Regions from separate parts of the Homo sapiens genome. Here region 2 is linked to region 1. Evidence: promoter capture Hi-C in 16 types of primary human blood cells and fetal thymus (Javierre and others, 2016). All regions are on one chromosome and are shown on one strand. The core of a region is centred on a gene start or on the middle of the fragment in contact, and the rest is flanking DNA. Distances in the headings are between cores, read along the strand shown.

Region 1 (5,064 bases), core at 841-3,340:
CGTCTCCAAAAAAAAGAAAGAAAGAAAGAAAAATGAAGGATAAGGGATAAGGGAGTGGAGTGAAGGACGGGCTATTTTATGTACGGCCATCAGAGAAGGCCTTGTCAACAAGACGGCATTTGGGCAGAGATCTGAAGAAGGTTAGGAGGTAAACAACTGAGCCACGGTTATCTTCCTCAGGCAGAGAAACAACATGTGCAAAGGCCCTGAGGAGAGATCCAGATAAGCACTGAAGTAACAGCAAGGATCTCATTGTGGAGCCTAAGGTACAAGTTGGAGAGTAGTAGGAGATGAGGTCAGAGAAGCAGCAGGGGCCTTGCAGGCCACTGAAAGGACTTGGATTTTACTCATTAAGAAGACATGGTAGGATTCTGGACAGAGGAAAGACAGGACTTGATGTAGGTTTTAAAAGGATCACTCTAGCTGTCTAGAGAAAAGATGGAAAGGAACCAGATTGCAGTGATAATGGCTTGCAATGGAGAATGAAAAGGGATTGTATTCTGGATATATGTCTCAAGTAGAGTCAATAGGATTTGCTGACAGATTGTGGGGTGTGAGAAAAACAAGAAAAATAAAAGATGACTCCGACAATTAACTTCAGCTCCTCTAATAACGGAGTTGCTATTCACTTCTAAGGCAAAGGGGGAAAGGGGATTCAGTTTTGGACACGTTAAGATGAAGATGACTCTTAGTCATCCAAGTCGTGATTTCAAGTAACTGCTGGATGCACAAATCTGGAAATAGGGAGACAGATCTGGACTGAAGATATTTATATTTATATTTCAGAATCTCCAGTTTATAGAAAGTATGTAAAGCCCTGAGGCTGAATGAATGAGACCACCTAAAGCTAGGGAGAGTCTATAGAAAAGGTCCTATAACTGATTCCCAAGGCACATCCTAACATTTAAAAGTCAGGAAGATAAGGAACCAGCAAAGGAAACCAAGAAGTAACACCCAGTGAAGACAGGGAAAGACAAGAAAATGTTATCCATAGGCCAAGTAAAGGGCTGAAATTAATGCCAGATCTTGCTATCTGACCTGCCACTGATTGAAGTTTTAAATCAGAAATTGGTGAATACAGATAACCTTCAGAAAACTGGCACTCTCTTGACAGAAATGTTACTCTGGACTGTTTCCTTCATGCTTAAGAAAATAACAAGGCCTTCCATTTCTGGACAAATGTACTCTTTGCCCATTCCTTCGTACATTCTATTACTACGTGGGGGACACTAAATTAGGTCTAGAGGGAAATGCAGAACAATACACTCGTTCTTTGTATCTCTGACTTTAAATCACTCCTATAGGAAAACCAAAACAAAAAAACTCCATAAACGTGAAAGGAACTCAGCTATAAGTTGGTGAAGTTGACACCTACAGGCCACCCACGTGGGTGACAGAGGGAGGTCAGAGGGCAATGCTCCAGGCGGACCTAATCGCCAGCGTCCAACAGATTGACAACTACCAACGACTAATCTCACTGCTTCCTTCACTGAGTGCGAAGAGCGGGAAGCACAATCTCACTATACCAGTGAAGTCAACCCCTCCCCACCAGGCCAGCCCACAACTCCAGCTATCCAGCACCCCGCTCCAGATCCCAGAGCCTCCCCGGGCCCAAAGGACCCCGCCCTAAACCGCCGGCGCCGGACCCACTACAAATCCCAGCAGGCACCGCGCGCCCGCAACATGCCAGCCTACGCTTAGCCGCCGCTGGGCCTCCTGGGGCCTGTAGTCTCCACGCCCCCCGTCTCCGGTAAGTACCTGAAAGCGATAAAGGAAGGCTTCGGGCCAGAGGAAGAGGTAGGCCGGGCTGATGAGGCCGAGTTTGCCGACCAAGGGCACGGCGACGGTGGCGGCGAACCAATAGCGCGTGATCGCCGGGATGCTCCTGAACCAGTCTCCGATGTCCGACATCTTCGACCCACAGGTAGCCAAGATGCACAAGACCGCCCGACTCCCCGTGCCGACCCCCTCACGACGCGGCCGGCTCCGCGACTGTTAGGTGTCTAGGTGGAAGCCGCCGAAGCCGCGATGCAGAAGGCGGAGACGGGCGGACGTGGCGCCACCGAATTCGGACCAGCGAGGCAGCCTTCTGAGGCGAAACTTCCCCTTCCGGCGACCGCGGACGACGTGACCAGAAGTCCCGCCGCTTAAAGGGTAAGCGCCGATTTTACCGCCCGGCCGAGGCTCGGCGTCCTGGGGGGCGGAGCCAGGTAGAGCGACTACACGACTGGTGGGAAAACAGTGGTTGCCTGGATCAACGGCAAACGCTCCGGCCAGTGGCGAGGCCAAATGCCATTCACCTAGTTCTCAGAGTTTTAATGCGGCTGGGTCCACCTGGAGGGTATTTAAAGGGGACGAAGGCAAACGAAGTGTCTAGTTCCTCGTCTGCTTACTCATTCCACAAGTGTTTGTTGGGCACAGTTCTAGACACTGGGCAGCTGCGGCTGTCAGCGCTGTCGTGGTACCCTCTCTCCTGATCTTAACATCCTCATTGGGATAATTTATAAACAAATAGATAATGAAGTAAGATAATCTCAGAGAGTGATTAGAAAAATAGGAAAATGAAATGAGATGATGAGGTGGAGTGACGGGGTGGGGGTGCGGCAGTGTGAGGACAGATGGCTACCTTAGGTATGAACTGGGCCAGCCAGGCAAGAGATCTGGGGGAAGAATTTTCCATGCACAGAGAAAAGCCGCTCTAACTAGGTTGGAATGTTGGAGGAACTAAAAGCCAAAATGATCCATCTTGTCTAATTCAACTTGTATAAGAAGGAATCTTTAAGAAAAGATACTGGCCAGGCGCGGTGGCTCACGCCTGTAATCCCAGCACTTTGGGAGGCCGAGGCGGGCGGATCACGAGGTCAGGAGTTCGAGACCAGCCTGGCCAACATGATGAAACCCCGTCTCTACTAAAAATACAAAAATTAGCCGGGCATGGTGGAGGGCGCCTGTAGTCCCAGCTACTTGGGAGGCTGAGGCAGGAGAATCGCTTGAACCCGGGAGGTGGAGGTTACAGCGAGCCGAGATTGCACCATTGCACTCCAGCCTGGGGGACAAGAGCCAGACTCCATCTCAAAAAAAAGAAAAAAAGAAAAGATACTGAGTAGAGTTTCCCGTTGTTTTGGGATTTGGGGCCAGCAGTTTAAGATTGCTAAAGTCTTCCAATAAAGAGCACCAGGAACAAACCTGTAGTCAACAAAGTTAGATTTATTAACTTGCTGCAGCAAGGGAGACTGCACTCCAGAGGAACCTCAATGCCTCTCATCAAACGGAAGTGTCATTATTGGGTTATGGGAATGGGGGGATTTTTTGGTAAGAATTAACTGGAGCAGTGTTTGATAGACTCGAAGCAAAGCAGAGCTGTGTGCAGCATCAGGTTAACATCAGACCTGAGTAGGAAGCAGGCTCTTTCCTTGGAAATCTCAAAATTACGACAAATGTGAAACGTTGGGTCTGAAAACTCTATCTAAAGCTTTGTACCTGTATTGAAAATCCTGTGTCAAAGTGACCTGTATGGCTCAGATGCTCTGGACAAGAATGGGATGTTCCATTCACACGGAAAGGATGTCAGACAGCAGAGTTTCCAACATTCCATAATTTTAGAGAATATTTGTCAGCACCATATCCTTGATGTTAATTAATAAAAACAGTTTTTTCATAACAAAAAGGCATTAAATATTCCACAGTGTAATGAGAGTATACAACATTTGGGAACCAATGGATAGCAAATCTACGAAGAACACAGCTGGTGGGAATATAAATTGATACAGCCTTACAAAAAGATAATTTTGATATAAAAGCTAGATATTTATATAAATAACAGATAATACTTGACGATATTGCCTGAGGTTTATTCTGTTTATTTCCCTCTACTACCACCACCATTGTTTTGTACCCACTACTCATAACCAAGGTACAGTGAAAGAAAACAGGGGTTATCTGGCTTAGGTGGAGGGCTAAGGAAAGTTTCTCTGATAAACTTAAAAGTACACGTGCATGAGAAAAGACAAGAACAAGAAAAATGTACACCCAATATCTGGCAGTGTTTATTTCTTTTTTTTTTTTTTTTTTGAGACGGAGTCTTGCTCTGTCGCCCAGGCTGGAGTGCAGTGGCGGGATCTCGGCTCACTGCAAGCTCCGCCTCCCGGGTTCAAGCGATTCTGCTGCCACAGCCTCCCGAGTAGCTGAGACTACAGGCGTCCGCCAGCACGCCCGGCTAATTTTTTGTATTTTTAGTAGAGACGGGGTTTCACCGTGTTAGCCAAGATGGTCTCAATCTCCTGACCTCATGATCTGCCCGCCTCGGCCTCACAAAGTGCTGGGATTACAGGCGTGAGCCACCGCGCCCGGCCTGGCAGTGTTTATTTCTAAGTTGTGCTCTAGAATTCATAGTGAATGCTCTGGAATTCAACTTCGGCCTTTAGAAACACTGAAGTTTAAATCAGAGCAACGGTAGGCCAGGTATGTCTGGTCTTTTCTTGTAACTTTACATTCAAAGGCTTTCTGGCTGGTCCGATGGTAGTGATTTATCAGAACTTATTAACATTAGTGTCACTAAAGTTGGTATACAACCCCCCACTGCTAAATTTGACTGGCTTTTAAAAATATTTATTATTTTTAAATAATATTGAATATTTATTAAATTTATTATTAATTTATTAATAATATTATTTAAATAATTATTTTTTAAAGGCTTTCTCTTTCTACAAAGTCTTAATAATCATTTTAATGACTAATATTCTACTAGTGATGTGGCAGAATCTTTTGACCATTTTCCTATTTCTGATACCTGTTTTTAAATACTATATATAGTTCTATAATGAATACCTTTATGCATATACATTTTATACTAATAGCTAACTTTTTTATTTACTAATATCTAACATTTGCTGAGTGTCTACAGTTTGATTGGCACTCAGCTATGCCCTTTATGGGCATGGTTTTAATTAGTCTTTACAACAATGCTTCAACCCTATGAAGTACTTTTATTTCCATTTACAAATGAAGAAACAGCCTTAGAGAAGTTAAGTAACTTGGCACTTGCCGGCAGGTGCATATATAAAA
Region 2 (5,064 bases), core at 1,175-3,674, 290 kb before region 1:
AATCTTGGGGATAGTTCTAATGTGGACCCAGGGTTGAGAGCCACTGGCCCAGACATTTGGCATAAATCTCCTTTGTGATGGAGAATCTGAGAGCTGGGCTGACTTTCAGACTGGACGACCCTGTAAATTCTTACCAACTAGGTTGGCCTTCATTCCTTCCCTATTATCAGTGTAGTAGTCCATTTTCATTCTGCTGATGAAGACATACCCAAGACTGGTTAAGTTATAAGAAAAAGAGGTTTCATGGAATCGCAGTTCCACATGGCTGGGGAGGCCTCACAATCATGGCAGAAGGTGAAAAGCACAGCTTACATGGCCACAGGCAAGAGAGAGAATGAAAGCCAAGCGAAAGGAACTTCCCATTATAAAAGCACCAGATCTCATAAGACTTATTCCCTACCATGAGAACAGTATGGGGGAATCTGACACCATGATTGAATCTCCCACCGAGTCCCTCCCACAACACGTGGGAATTACGAGAGCTACAGTTTAAGGTGAGATTTGGATGGGGACACAGCCAAACCATAGTTATCAGCCTATCCCCACTTGAAACAGGCTCCTTCACCCAGCTACAACAGGCTGCATCTCCTGAAATGCACCATGCTCTGTGTTTCCTTCATACATTTGCTCACACCACCTCCTTTCCCTAGAATGACTGCTCCATGCTCCCTACCACATGGGAAAAAATTACTTCTAATTAAGACCTCAGTTCAAGCACCCCTTTCTCTAGGTTGTCTGCCCCAATTCTTTCCAAGGATACAATGATCTCTTTCTCCTTCTGTCCCCACTGCCTCATCAATAAGACACCATCACATCATCCTCCATATCACACCTGAGACATCGATTGCCCCTGTGTTCAAACCTGACTTTGTATAGAGCAAACCACAGCATAGCTGAGTTAACTAAAACCAGAAACACAGCTCCCCACCAGACAACCTGGCTAAGGGCATGGTAGGACTTAATATTTATGTGAATGGATTTTCAAAAATCACTCATCTAAAATTAATACCAACAACATGAGAAGATAATAACAAAAGCTTTCATCAGATGAAATGAAGCTTATTATTTCTGCCAGGAAACTGCAAACTTGGGTAAAGCTCTATATTGAACACATAAATTGTTGTTGATATCATCAAATATTAGGAATCCTACAACATGGAGCATTAGGTTTAGAGTCCAAAAAACCTGAACTATAAATGAACTCCGCAGTTTTCTAAATGCATAACTTTGTGAAAGATAATCTCTCTGAGCCTCAGTTTTCTCATCTATAAAATGGGGATTATAACACTTCACTCACTTCCTCCAATAGGTTGTTTTAATCATTAAATAAAATAACTCATAACAAAGCATATTTTATTTAACTCCAAAGCCCTCTACAAATGTAAGAAAGACTTTTAATATTTTTCCTAATTACTCATGTTTTTCTTTTTCTTAATTAGTATCAACAGTTTTACATTCATATGAAACAGATTGAGATGTCCATTCAGGAATAATTAAGAAGAAAGGTTTATTTTAGAAGGACTGTAGGATGTTGTTAGAGGAAGAGCATTTTTTTTCTTTTCTTTCTTTTTTTTCTTTTTAAGGAAAAAATATGCAAATTGCTTTTTCTTGCTAAGGTTCTTCCATACAAACTGTAATAAAAATATCTTGCACCTAAACAATAGTTATATTTAAATTATAAATAATAACTAAGAGGAAAGAATAACTAAAGAGAGTAAGCAAGGGAACTAATGTGTTTGATTCTCTTACTTCCTTGTTCATCATCTCTCTGGGTATAAGGCAATCTTTTCTTTTCAACAAACAAGGGATGCGTGTTCACATACATGCAGTGCATATGTAGATGCATGTGAATGTTTATATGAGTGCTTTTTTCTTCTAGTCTTTGCTTGATTGGTTGGTTTGTCTGGGGTGGAAGTAAATTTTATTTTTGACAATGTAGTACATGCATAAAGCCTAGAAAGACTGTCAGTACTACAAGAACTCTGCTTCACAATTCTCTCTGAAGTTAGACTAGGGGCTCCAGGGGACATAGACTGGTTCCAGATGACAATTCTAGAATTCACAGAGCTAGCAAGGGAGATAGCTACCTTTTTTTGAAGTATTCTTGAGCAGAAAGGAGTTTTAAAGATCATCTTTTCCAACCCTGTGTATTTCCTCATTTTATAGATAAGGAAATAAAAAATGACCAGAGAGGAAGAGTGACTTACCTAAGATCACACAACTATTATTTTTACAAGCCTTTCCTAAGCATCTACCATATGCAAGACAATATTCTATTGAGGTGGCTCCAAGAAAAATAAAGCACAGTCTCAGCCAGGCACCATGGTTCATGCCTGTAATCCCAGGACTTTGGGAGGCTGAGGCAGGTGGATCACCTGAGGTCAGGAGTTCGAAACCAGCCTGGCCAACAAGGTGAAAACCCTACTCTACTAAAAATACAAAAACTTAGCTGGGCATGGTGGCAGGCACTTTCAATTTCAGCTACTCAGGAGGCTGAGGCAGGAGAATCACTTGAACCTGGGAGGTGATGGTTGCAGTAAGCTGAGATCACGCCATTGCACTCCAGCCTGGGCAACAAGAGAGAAACTCTGTCAAAAAAAAAAAAAAAAAAACCTCTGTACTCAAAGAGTTGTTAGTCTAATAAAGCAGCATGTAAGTGTCCTATGACACAAGGCAGGATAAAATCAGAGCTAAAAAGAAGTGCTTAAGAACCCTGAAAGAACTGAAAATAATTTCTGATTGGGAAACTAGAAAGAGTTTCACAAAGAACTAGCTTCTGAGCTGGGTATTAAGGATAGAAGGATCCAGGTCATGTAGTTCTATACACGTAGCTCCTATACTGGGATATTTTTCATTGTCACCCGCTGTCTCAGGGTACCCCTCTTGGAAAACCACAGCAAAATACCAGCCCCAAAAAAGATTAGGGCACAAAAGGAAACTGAGAAGAAATACAAGTGGGAAAGGACAAGTAGAAAGCAGTCGCCTTGAGAATGAAAGGGAACATCCTTAGAAGAAAACACAGCGCACCTGCTTGTATATAGCATCAATTAAAATGCAAAAAGCAAATCAAAGAGTGAGTATTCCCTGATCATGCTACAAAGTTAAAACAAGTCAGTAGGATTATTCAACAGATGATTATTGGTGCACTAACCTTCTTACATGTACAAAATATAGACTAGATCCATACTTCACTTGGAGCAAGGCAGGGGAGATTAGATAAGAGAAGAAAGAAAAGCAATTTTAAACCAGAGTCCCAAATGTATAGAGGCTAGAATAAATGCCACTGTGCAGACTGGAAATGCTAAGCCTCATCACAGGAAGCCAGGTCAGTGCAGAAACAGTAGTCTGAGAAATTAACCAACATGGATGTCATCACCCTAAGTGATTATTAAAGACATGGGGTGGTGAGACGACACAGCAAGAGAGTGCAGGGTGAGAGAGGAGCTTGAGCCAATATTCTGGAAAATTCCAACCTTTCAAGGACAGGGTGTAGCAATGAAGAGTCAGTGGTAACTTGAGTGATTACAATTTCATGGTGCAATGGGAGTGCAGGGCAGGACACAGTGGGTTGAGGTAGGTGCAAAACAAGGAATTATCCTTAAACCTGTACTCCAGCTACTTCTATAGAAGGCAGAAGCTATTCTACTGTCTTGCAAGCAAGAGTGCAGAATGATTAGATGCTGGGGCACATACTACACAGCAGGACAATGGAAGCTCCCTCCACCCAAAGGGGAAAATCTCTCAGACAGCTCTTGAAAAATGTTTCATCCCAAGCTATAGAACTTCACTGCAAGCTTCATTCCCCACTCCATTCCCAACCACACACCCAGAAATAAAACATTTGATTAGGAGACCAAATATCCCAGTTTACACCTGTTGTCCTAGCATAATAATTGATGGCTGGTGTCATCCCCTTCTACTCCCAAAAGTATCCCAGTTTGGAAAGTAGACTAGTGGTTGCCAAGAGTTAGGAATGGTGGGGGAAGAGTGGGTAGACATGACCATAAAGGGCTAGGTAGCAAGAGGGAGATCATTGCCTAAGTGATGGAATAATTCTGTATCTAGATTACATAAATCTGCACATGTGATCGATGACATAGAACAATGCACACACATTGTTCCCATGTCAGTTTTCCGGTTTTGATGTTGTACCCTAGGTATGTCAAATGTAATCACTGGGGGAAACTGGGTGAATGGTACATGTATCTTCTTTGTACTATCTTTGCAACTCCTGTGAATCTATAATTATTTAAAGGGCTTATTTTAAAAAAAGAAAAAACAGCTCCAGCAGCATTCACTGAGTGCTGGATCAGGACTTTGCAGACCTAAGGAGATTTGTGCAGCCAGTATTTGCTTGGATCCGTACAGTTGCTAATAGAAACATAGATTGCTGTTGCTGTAGACATGATGTTGGGGAAGACCCTGTTCTTTGAAGTTTGGAATTACAAGACAGAGAGGCCAAGAATTCTCTGTAACTCTTTTATTAGCTCTGATGCAAGAAAGAAACTGTTCCGGCATGAAGCAGCAGGGAGAGATGTAGCATGTGGAAATGGATCAGTGCATGCCTCAGAACCAGCTCAAAGACAGCAAAGGAGATCAGGAAGGAGGACAAAGACATCCCCTGTCTATCAGTTTCATCAATGTTCAGGAAAGGAGAGAATTAGAAGCAAACACCAAGCCCACATCATAGTACAGCTATAAACACAATTAGCTTATTCTATATGGTGACTCTTGTCATTCTCAACCACTCAGTTTATTTTCTCTTTAGTGTCGCAAGTTAAAATAATCTTATCAGGTATCTTTAATAACCACGGTTTTATTGAATGTTACGTATCTACACCATTCATGTGTCATTTCACTTCAATCCTCACATGAACTTACAAAGTGTATATCATTATCCTCATTTTTCATATGAGAAAACTGAGATCCAGACAGGTTAAGTAACTTACCCAATGTCACACGGACAATAAGGGGTAAGACCAGGATGCAAGCCCAAATCACTCCAATGCCAAACCTGTGTCATTCCACCACGCTATGCTGCCTCTTGTGGGATGAGACAGTCAA

What was found. Contacts are between HindIII fragments. The CHiCAGO score rates a contact against its expected background, and 5 or more counts as called.
Region 2: a fragment that was not itself captured here is called in contact with the fragment with the promoter of DERL1 in region 1 in 14 of 17 cell types (neutrophils, total CD4 T cells, M2 macrophages and 11 more); the score reaches 8.7 in neutrophils.

Annotation. Positions count from the first base shown.
Region 1 is chr8:123,040,212-123,045,275 of GRCh38, forward strand. DERL1 (derlin 1) reads right to left here and starts at 2,091. Exons shown (of 8, transcript NM_024295.6): 1 at 1,759-2,091. The coding sequence starts at 1,911. It also overlaps the pseudogene RNY4P5. RefSeq lists an enhancer at 1,501-2,040. The HindIII fragment of the contact is 6,787 bases long and covers 1-3,470 here.
Region 2 is chr8:122,748,547-122,753,610 of GRCh38, forward strand. No RefSeq gene overlaps it. Among named protein-coding and RNA genes, the nearest start is that of ZHX2-AS1, 31 kb to the right of the region's middle. The HindIII fragment of the contact is 2,736 bases long and covers 1,057-3,792 here.